4 separate regions of the Homo sapiens genome follow, and all the other regions are linked to region 1. The links are contacts of gene promoters, found by promoter capture Hi-C in blood cells and fetal thymus (Javierre and others, 2016). All regions are on one chromosome and are shown on one strand. The core of a region is centred on a gene start or on the middle of the fragment in contact, and the rest is flanking DNA. Distances in the headings are between cores, read along the strand shown.

Evidence for each region. Contacts are between HindIII fragments. The CHiCAGO score rates a contact against its expected background, and 5 or more counts as called.
Region 2: a contact is called between the fragment with the promoter of CLPSL2 here and the fragment with the promoter of SLC26A8 in region 1, in 15 of 17 cell types (activated CD4 T cells, M0 macrophages, endothelial precursors and 12 more). The highest score is 13.3, in activated CD4 T cells.
Region 3: a contact is called between a fragment that was not itself captured here and the fragment with the promoter of SLC26A8 in region 1, in 3 of 17 cell types (naive CD4 T cells, naive B cells and total CD8 T cells). The highest score is 5.7, in naive CD4 T cells.
Region 4: a contact is called between a fragment that was not itself captured here and the fragment with the promoter of SLC26A8 in region 1, in 1 of 17 cell types (neutrophils). The highest score is 5.3, in neutrophils.

The regions. Positions count from the first base shown.
Region 1 is chr6:36,023,371-36,025,935 of GRCh38, forward strand. SLC26A8 (solute carrier family 26 member 8) reads right to left here and starts at 1,271. Exons shown (of 20, transcript NM_052961.4): 1 at 1,134-1,271. RefSeq lists enhancers at 716-1,217, 1,218-1,717. The HindIII fragment of the contact is 10,062 bases long and covers 1-2,204 here.
Region 2 is chr6:35,775,327-35,777,891 of GRCh38, forward strand. It overlaps CLPSL2 (colipase like 2), which reads left to right and starts at 1,272. Exons shown (of 3, transcript NM_207409.4): 1 at 1,272-1,376; 2 at 2,133-2,255. The coding sequence starts at 1,293. RefSeq lists a silencer at 1,253-1,382. The HindIII fragment of the contact is 8,503 bases long and covers 1,064-2,565 here.
Region 3 is chr6:36,207,986-36,210,550 of GRCh38, forward strand. It overlaps BRPF3 (bromodomain and PHD finger containing 3), which reads left to right. Exons shown (of 13, transcript NM_015695.3): 5 at 1,802-1,930; 6 at 2,231-2,543. Among named protein-coding and RNA genes, the nearest start is that of BRPF3-AS1, 12 kb to the left of the region's middle. The HindIII fragment of the contact is 3,023 bases long and covers 1-2,565 here.
Region 4 is chr6:36,189,096-36,191,660 of GRCh38, forward strand. All of the region lies in intron 1 of BRPF3-AS1 (BRPF3 antisense RNA 1), which reads right to left. Among named protein-coding and RNA genes, the nearest start is that of BRPF3, 6.4 kb to the right of the region's middle. The HindIII fragment of the contact is 8,919 bases long and covers 1-2,565 here.

The DNA of each region.
Region 1 (2,565 bases), core at 21-2,520:
AAACCCCGTCTCTAATAAAAATACAAAAATTAGCCGAGCATGATGGCGTGCCTGTAGTCCTGGCTACTCAGGAGGGTGAGGCAGGAGAATCGCTTGAACCTAGGAGGCAGAGGTTGCAGTGAACCGAGATCAAACCACTGCATTCCAGCCTGGGCGACAGAGCAAGACTCTGTCTCAAAAAAAAAAAAAAAAAAAAAAGTCAAGAATAAAAAGTTTAAATACAATCCAATTTTTTAGCTATTGACCCAAATAATATGAAATCTTGAAAGCTAGTTTAGTTGCAGGAATATCTTCCCCCTGATATTGTTAACTTTCTTATGTTTTCTATAATCACGGAAAGGCAAAATTTACTTCCGAATTTTCAAAATAAGCATTTGTAATTCCATCAGAAACAACCCTACACCTGTTACTACCTAGGTTTTTATGGAGAATGTATTGGGAATACAGAAAAGGTATAAGCAAAGAGCCTGGCCTTTAGATCCTTTAGTCACTCTGGCTAGTGGCTAGGGATGACTAGTAAGATGACAGTCCTTAAGCGGATGACCATTGGACACATAAACATAGGACAACCACCTTCCATGCAATGTGGATAGAGTAACATGGTGTGTTGGAGAGATGCTCATTATTGGGGTGGGGGTGCTGGAGAAGGCTTCACGGGGCCCCTGACACATCAACGGCATTTGACATGAAAAGAAAGGGGCAAGGAGGTGGGGGTGGGGATTCAGTCACAGGGAACAAAATTAACAAAAGCAGTGGGGTCTGAAAGGAAGAGGAACGGCCGGGCAGTCAGGCCTCAGGAGGAAATGGATGGGGTAGGCGGTGGGGTGCAGGTAGCACGTCAGTTCTGGGGCTTTTGACAATATAGACAGGAGAATTTGAAAGGATGCAGCTTGCAAAACGCACACACTGTTGTCTCTTGTCATTGCCATCCACACGGCCTTTGAAAGTAGAGACAATACCTCAGAGATAAGCTCCCAGGGACGACCATCATTCATTCATTCCACAGATACTGACTGAGTGCCCACGGCGTGCCTGGCTCTGCGGCATACCTGGGTACCTGCCGGTGACGGACGCAGCCCCCGCCCTGGGACCTGCAGCCCCCGGCGCCCAGGCGTCTCCCAGCAGCGGCTCACCTGGCTCCTTGGCGGGGGCGGGAGTGCGGGCGCTGGGATCCCACACGGCTCTCGCCTGGCTGGCGGCGCTGCGGACGCGGATACCGGCGGCGGTTCCCGAGCCGTTGTGGCCTAGCCCGCGGGCGTTCCGGGCGGGCTGAGGAGATGAGAGTGGGGGAGGGGACGAGGAAGAGGAGCATGAGCAGCTGGGCTAGGGAGCCAGGAAAGTGGTACCTGGGTCGCCCTCCTCATACCTGAGTCGTGGGATCCCCTTGGTATTTGGTAAACCTGTATACCAAGGCTCCTTCTCTCTCCGAGGTTTTGCTATTCTTGATCGAGGGCCTATTTGGTGCCAGGCCTCGTGTCCTGAACATACAGCAGTGCACATGTGTCACATGTGTACTGCACAGACGGTAATTCACTAACGTCTCCGGAAGACTTAAGCCTTCCTCAGGTCAGAAGAGGTAAAAAGAAATGGAGGCTAGGAGGGTCACCCAGGTCTCCAACCATAGGCTGTCTGCCCCACAAACCCGGCTCTCCCCACTGAATGACACCCTCCTGCCCAGATCTGCTCTGGATGCAGACATGCCATCTGCACTCACTCCCTTTACCCTCCTCCCACCCTATCCCTGTCCCTAGCACTGTCTCTCACTCCACCTTGTATTCCTGCTTGGCCCAGTTACAGTTTTACACTTGTTTGTTTGATGACTGTGTTAATGTCTACCTTATAATGCACTTTATGTATTCCTTTTTGTAAATCATCTTACCCCTATGAGGGCAAGGACTTTTATCCCTTTCATTAACTGTTTTATTATCAGTGCCTACAGCAGTGTGGTGGACATAGGAAGTATTCAATTAATTTTTGTTGAATGATTGCCCTCCCATTGATTGTAAGCTCCACACCGGCAGCAACTGTAGTTTTTAATCACTTTTAAACTGCAAGTGTTTGACACCTAGTAGGCATTTAATACACATTGGTTGAATGAGTGTATGAATATACTGCTTACTTTATCTTTACCCTTTCATTCACCCTCACCTCATCATCCCAATTTGTAGGATAAAAATGTGCATTTCTGAGGATTCCTACTTCCAAGCTTCCTCCTCACCCTTTGTAACCATTCCCTCATTCCCTTGATCCCCCCAACCCCATCCCTCATGTCTTCACAATCATGTTTTTGCTCTTACTTCCCCTTCACCCTCCATTACTTCTTAGAAAGCTTCCTATCCTCCCTAGTTTGGAACATTCTCAAGCAACATGTTTTTGTAGATAAGAGAATTCCAGCCTAAGCTACATTGGATCCAAAACAGCTTTCCATGAATCACCCATGACTATCTGTTTTTTGGTTTTATATTGCTTTCCTTGAAGAGGACTGAGGATACTGTACCACTTGAAATCATGGTCACTGTTCATAATTTTTTCAACAAATATTTATGACACATGTTTTATGTTCTA
Region 2 (2,565 bases), core at 22-2,521, 250 kb before region 1:
GTGCGGTGGGGGCTGTTATTCTTGGCTGTTATTCCCCACCAAGACAGGATTCCTCGGTTCATTTCTTAAGCGAAACTTCAAAAGCAGAAGCAGGCTGGGAGTGGTGGCTCACGTCTGTAATCCCACCACTTTGGGAGGCCGAGGCAGGAGAATCTCTTGAGCCCATGAGTTCAAGACCAGCCTGGACAACATAAGGACAACCTGTCTCTATAACAAATATTAACAATACAAAATTAAAAAAAAATAGAAATTAAAAAAAAGCAGAAGCAGGCAGGTGGGGTGAGGTGGAAGCTTCATCCATAGGGAAGTCCTGAGGAAGGCCTGCCTCCCCCGGTTCCAGGATTGCTCTGTGCAGCTCTAGCTCTCCCTTAACCCTCCTCCCTATTCTGAGTTTTCTTCTCTTCCCACTTCTCCATTTTGCCCCCACATCTTGACTTTCACACAATTCACAGACAAATCCTTAGACAATTAATAGAATGATTAAGACTGCAAGAGATTTAAGACTTAGAGACCATCTTGTCCCACCTCCTGGTTCTTACAGAAGAGGAGAATGGGGCCTGCAGCGGGTGTGAGCAGCCCAGAGGGTGGGGCTGGATTATCCCGAAGGTAAGGGGAGAATCTGGGGCTGCAAGGGCAGACAGAGAATCAACATCAGGAAGGAAGCTCTTTTTATTTCAGCATATATGTTTTGTGCCGTTTATAAAAATAAAGTTTTGAGGCCAGGTGCGGTGGCTCACACCTGTAATCCCAGCACTTTGGGAGGCTGAAGCAGGACCATCACTTGAGGCCAGGAGTTAGAGACCAGCCTGGGCGACATGGGGAGACCCCCGTCTCTACAGAAATTTTTAAAATTATCCCGGCGTGGTGGCGCACACCTGTAGTCCCAGCTACTCGGGAGGCTGAGGCAGGAGGATCACTTGAACCTGGGAGGCGGAGATGGCAGTGAGCCGAGATCACGCCACTGCACTGGGCGACAGTGCGAGACTCCGTCTGTAAAATAAATAAATACAATAAAATAGAGTTTTATCTTACAATAAAAATAGAGTTTTATCTTACAGTTTCAAGCTTCTACTTGGAAGTAACACGTATGGAGGCTCCCAGGGCCCCTACAGTCTGGAATCCCGCCCGTGCGAGCCTGAGCGCCTTTCCTCCCTCCTTCCCTTCCGCAGGCGTCCTCGCCCTCCACGTCCCTCCTCCGCCGGGGTGGCCTGGGGCGCCGGGTCACGTGGCCGGGGAAGAGGTTTTATCCCGCGGCCCCTCGGAACCCCGCCGCTGCTCTGCCGCCCAGGCCCATGGCCGCAGCCCTGGCGCTCGTGGCGGGGGTCCTGTCGGGGGCGGTGCTGCCCCTCTGGAGCGCGCTTCCGCAATATAAAAAGGTGAGCCGGGGAGCGCGCCCAGCCGGCCGCGACCGCAGGAGAGGGTGGCCCCGCCGCCGGGGCACTGGAGCCCGAAGGCGCCGGGCAGCCTGAAAGGGAGAGGTGGGTCCGGAACCACACCCAGGCGGGTAGCCTGGGGCATCCTCAGACGGACTTCAAAAGCCGCTTCACTTTCCCCTGGTGGCCTCAGAGGGGAGAGAAATTGGCCTATGACCAGCACCCTCGCTCCCTCCACCTCCCCCGCCCGTGCCCCTTCCGATGGCCTCAGTCCTGGGCTCGCTTCCCTCCCCAAACTGCTCACAGGCAAACCCACCCTGCATGCTCTGGTTTCTCCTCCTCTTCTTCCACCTCCTCTCACTGTCTAGTGATTCTTCCAGGCACGAGGGCTCTCCCCTTTTCTCCTCTTTCTCTCCCTCTTTTTCGAGCCCGCAGCCCCTTCATTCTCATCCCCCAACCCTGCCCCGCAAAATGGGACTTAAGAGTACACACCCCATGGGACTCATGGAGGTGAGGGGGGTCCAGGAAAGGAGAGGCCGAGGGAAAAGTGCTAATCCCCCTCTCCTCCTCTCTGCTGCCCTGGGTCCTGCTGAGGGGCCGGGGTGGGGCTGGGGGGGGAACCAGCCCCCCAAGGGGTGACAACCTCATGACTTCTCCTGGATCCCTGGGCTCTTTGGCAATGGTGGGAACCCTCCCCTACCCGCCCACACGACTCAGGGATTGCTCCCAGCCTGGCAGACATTCTGCCTGTCCCCACAGAAAATCACAGACAGGTGCTTCCACCACTCTGAGTGCTACAGTGGCTGCTGCCTCATGGACTTGGACTCCGGTGGAGCCTTCTGTGCCCCCAGGGCCAGAATAACCATGATCTGCTTGCCCCAGGTGAGGCCCTAGTATGGGGCAACTTCTGGCAAGTAGAGAAGCGGGCAGGGAGGTTAAAAAAAAAACACCTGGCCCCACCTGTTTTTTCACCTCTGTCTGGAGTGCCCTTCTTCTTCTCCACTTGGCAAACTCCTACTCATGGTGCAAAACAACTCCAGCCACCTCCTCTGAGAAGGCTTCCCTCCTTGGAGCTCCTGTACCCTGGGGTCAGACCCTCAGCAGACCATGTATCTCCCTAACTGGCCATGTCTTTTCTCTGCCTCTCCCAGTGGTTGGAACTCTTCAAGGGCAGGGATCGCATCATATTCAT
Region 3 (2,565 bases), core at 28-2,527, 180 kb after region 1:
GCCTCTTCTACAGACTACCTGTATGACATTAAGCAAATTCTTTAATCGCTTAATACATTGGTTTTCTCACCTGGAATATGGGGGTAATTATAGAGCCTACATCATAAGGTTGTTTTGAGGATTAGATGACTTCATCATGTAAAGAGCTTAGAACAGTGCCTGGCACATAGTAACAGCCAGAGAAATGTCAGCTGCTGTCATTATTATTATTATCAATACTCTTTGCTTCTCTGAAGTGTCTACTGCACATGGCAGAGAGCAAATACTGTTAATTAAGTGGATGAAAAGCCAAAACTGTTCTCTCTGGTCTAGGAATAGCAGCTGTCACTCACATGCTTCAGAGGCCAGGGTTAAAGATGTTCCTTTCTTGCCGGGCACAGTGGCTCATGCCTGTAATCCCTGCATTTAGGGAAGCAGAGGCAGGAGGATAGGTTGAGTCCAGGAGTTTGAGATGAGCCAGGGCAACAAAGCAAGACCTGTTCTCCACAAAAAGGGGAAAAAAAAAAGATGTTTCTTTCTCTTTCTCCAAATTCTAATTCAGTGGTCAGCCTTAGCACAACCCCTTTTCTAGCAGGCCAGTAGCCTGAGTTTCCTCCTCATAGCCTGGGCAGCTCATGCCATATTTACCATGGATGGCCATGGAGGACATCTCAGGACCTTCTTCAAGGGTTCAAAATGTCTGTGCTGTCCCAGGCATGATCCCACAGCTGAACTTCTCATCTCATCTCTGGTTCAGAGAAATGAGAGAGAGAAGAAGGCCTGGTCCTGGGGAAGTAGGCAGGCCTGTTTTGATATAGCCAAAAGGTGGAAATTTTCTATAGTCTTAATTTGTGGCTTCCCAACTTTTCACATTAGGGCATATGTAGAAAATAGCATTTGTACAGCATACTACTGTAAGTATATGAAGCTACTTGCCACTTGCGGGGGCAAGCCTGGAGGCCCTGGTGACCCCATGCTGACCCAGATGCTCCAAGGGCTGATGGAATCAGTATCTCAGCACACTGGGAAATTCTGGTTCAAGCACATTTTACATCATCATTGTGTCCCTTGGACTAAGTCAGACCTGGGTTCAAATCCTATCTCTATTCTTTTCTAGACAGATGACCTTAGACTAGTAACTCCTTCATCATGCTGTCTCTAAACCTCAGATTCCATATACATTTTTTTAATTTGTATTTTTTTTCTTTTAGTCCTTGGTGATCCTTGTTCTGATCCATATTTGTAAAATGGGGATAATAATTTCTGTTTCAGGGTTATCGTGATGATTAATTGAGGTAATACAAGTACAGAGTTAGTGTGGCATAATGGCCAAGAGCACTCACTGTAGAATCACTGGGACTGAATCCCAACTCTGCTCCTTATTAGCTATGACTTTAGGCCAGTTACTTAGTTTCCTCTAGTTTCCTCCTAGTTCCTTAGTTACTTGGTTTCCTCTTTGTAAAATACCTCATCTGTTCCTACCTCATATACTCATTTATTTTACATAAAATGCTTAGAACATTACCTGGCATTTAGTAAGGGCTATAGAAGTGTTAATGATTATAATTGTAATGATAATTATTATTGTTACTGTAAATTTTAGTATGATGTTTGGTACATAGGAAACAATAATAAAATAGTAGCTGTTGGTGTCATTATTCCTAGGCTAAAGGTTGGGTGATAGCTTCTCATATACTGGTCAGCTTAATATTCTATGAAAATTTGTTGTACAAGATTGGTAAAAGTCAAACTATCAAGAAAAAGTTTCAGTACATCTTTGCAGGGGATGTTCTGATCTGATCTCACCCCACCTTCCCCACAGGTCAAAGTCCAGCAGGCTGCCATGGAGCTGGAGCTGATGCCATTCAATGTTCTGTTGAGGACAACACTGGACCTGCTGCAGGAGAAGGATCCTGCACACATCTTCGCAGAACCAGTCAACTTGAGTGAGGCAAGTTCCCCCTACTTTCCAAGTAGTAAATTCTTCTTGAACTGGAACAGGGTCTGAGTAGGCTAGGAAGGAGTTGGGCCACAGGGTGTACAAAACCAGGGGTAGGAGGGTGGGTCTGGCAAAGCTAGTAGACTTGCCCTTGATGAGGGGTCAGCAGGCCAGGGTGGGCCAGGACTGTAGGTCTTTGAGTTAGCCTGGCATGGCCAAATCAGAAATTGAGGAGGCCAAGAGTATTGGTGAAGGGTGTGTCTGTTTGGCTAGTAAATGGTTGTTGTAATTGTACAGGTTTTATATGTTTAGGTTCCAGATTACCTGGAATTCATATCCAAGCCAATGGATTTTTCTACTATGAGGCGGAAGCTGGAGTCCCACCTGTACCGCACCTTGGAGGAGTTTGAGGAGGACTTTAACCTTATAGTTACCAACTGCATGAAGTATAATGCTAAAGACACAATTTTCCACCGAGCAGCTGTCCGCCTGCGGGACCTGGGAGGGGCCATCCTACGGCACGCCCGGCGGCAGGCAGAGAACATCGGCTATGACCCCGAGAGGGGCACTCACCTGCCCGAGTCACCCAAATTGGAAGACTTTTACCGCTTCTCCTGGGAAGACGGTGAGAGGCCTGGATGGGTGGG
Region 4 (2,565 bases), core at 26-2,525, 170 kb after region 1:
CCCCATTCTTTTTTCTTGGATTCTGACCTTCATGATACTTTCTTCATATATCTGTTGGTTTTTGGTTGTTTATTCAATGTTAAGAGGTAGTTTTTTTTAAAGCTGTTTAAAACTCTATGTGTGTTGGGGTAGGGGTGGGGAATGCTTGATACCAGGTGAGCTTCAGCATAAGGCAAAAGGTGACAAGCTGGATGTTTTAGTGAAGATGTTCCATCGCCAGTATTCATAAATAGGTCTTTTCTCCATCTTCAGAGAGGAATCATGGTATTCTCTAACATTCTGTAATCCATTGCTTCTCAAATCTTAATATGCATATGAAACATGTAGGGAGATCTTAAAAAGCAGATTCTGGTTTGGTAGGTCTAGAGTGGGGCCTAAAATTCCACATGTTTAACCAACTCCCAGGAGATGTCAATACTATCGGTTCTTGAACAATAATCTAAGTAGCAAGGTTCTGGCTGCGGGTGGTGGCTCACGTCTACGAACCCAGCACATTAGAAGGCCAAGTTGGGAGCACTGCTTGAGCACAGGAGTTCAAGACCGGCCTAGGCAACAAAGTGAGACCCTGTCTCTTAAAAAAAATTATCGAGGCATGATGCTGTGTCCCTGTAGTCCCAGCTACTCAGGAGGCTGAGGTGGGAGGATCGCTTGAGCTTGGGAGGTTGAGGCTGCAGTGAGCTGTGATCACACCACTGCATTCCAGCCTGTGCAACAGAGCAAGACCTCATCTCAAAAAACAAAAACAAACACTAGCAAAATTCTAAAATAAACCTGGCTTCCAGTGTTTTGCAATGTGATTGGGGGAAGAGGCAGGACCACTAAGAATTTTGATCTATGAAACATTTATTTCAACTAAAAGGATGGACTGACTAGAAATGTTTTCATGAAATTTTCTCTTAGCCCCCTTCTGCACCACCAGATTCCAGCAATTTGTACCAGATTTCCCCTCCCTCATCAGTCTAGGGAAGAACATGTGATGGTGATGATTGGGGCTCGGGGGAGCATCTTATTATTTAGTATGCAGAGATTCCCTTTAATTTCCGTTTTCAGTATGACACTTCATCGCTGTCTTCATTGGTTCCTGGTGGCCCCAAGTCTAGAACTTCTTTAGTTCAATTTCTTGAGATAGTAAATCTCACCTGCTGTTGTTTTCCCTCATTCTCTTTGTTCTTGTGGATTTCATTGTCTTGTGGATTTTTTTATCCTTTACTAACATTATTGAAGTTAGGGGAGGGAGTGGGGACCAATGCATGTTGTCAAGCCAGACATTATTTTAACCATGCAATCATTAAACTTTTCCAGAAATGTCCCACTCATTGTGGACTACTCTTTCTACAATGTACAATGTAAATTGTAAATTGAATTTAAATTTGCCATCATTTCATTGTTTTCTATTTGTTTCACCTTTACTATATTTCCTTTTCTTTCCTTGACTTCTTTTAGGTTGGTCGAATTTTTTATTCTTTTTTTACTCTGTACTAGTTTGTGAGTTACATCCTCATTTTTTCATTCTTTTAATGTTAATGATTAGTCTAAAAATTGCAACAGGTATGCTTTATCAACTTAATTGTGGTAAAATTTATGTAAAATAAAAGACAGCTACTCTGTACAGTTTAAGTTTTGGCAAATGTATATATACCTGTTTCTCCACCACTGCCATCAACTTACAGAATGTTTCTATCACTCCAAAAAGTTTCCTCATGCCCTTTATAGTCCCTCCTCCCCTTCACATCCAGGAAGCCACCAATCTGCTATCATTATAGAGCAGTTTGCATTTTCCAGAATTTCATATAAATGGAAACATGTATTTTATTATTATAGGTATTCTGGAGTAATCAAAAGCTAATATTAATCCTTTAACTTTACCTTTTTCTCAGAGTATTTTAATCCTGGAATTCTCTAAAATCCTCTAATTCACTGTTTCTCAACTTTAATATGCATATAAATTACTTATGGAAATCTTGTCAAAATGCAGGTTCTAGTTTAGTATGTGCTATTATTTTTGTGTATTTTCTCTCCCTTTAGTAAAATTATGCCAAGAAGATGGCTACTTTTAGGGTTGGTACTTCTGCTAAAATATGGAATTATATTTTATAGTGTCCTGGCTTCACTCACAGTTAAGAGTTTAGGATTTAATAGAAATCCTAATTAAAGGTTGAAAAGATAAGACATTAGATCAAGTTGAACAATTTATACTTGTCACATACTACTTGCTTTCATGCTTGCTTGGTTTAGCATTCCACTGAGTATATGGTAAAATGTTCTAGCTAGAATTCAAGTTCAGAAGATAATGCAAGCCACACTGGATAGCTAATTTAAACCATACCGTATCACACTCTCTTGCCTGACTAGAACTTAAAGCATGGAACTATTGAAGTCATTTCCCTGTTCCAAAAATCATCAGGGTCTCCTGCCCCTTCATGTCTAGCTCCCTACCCAACCAACAGTCTCCATGCTCTGACTTTACCTTACCAGCCTTCTCTCTCATATCCCTCATTTTTGGGTCAATGGGTAACCCACTGTTTCCTGAAACAATCTTATGGCATTCCATGTGTTAAAGAAAAG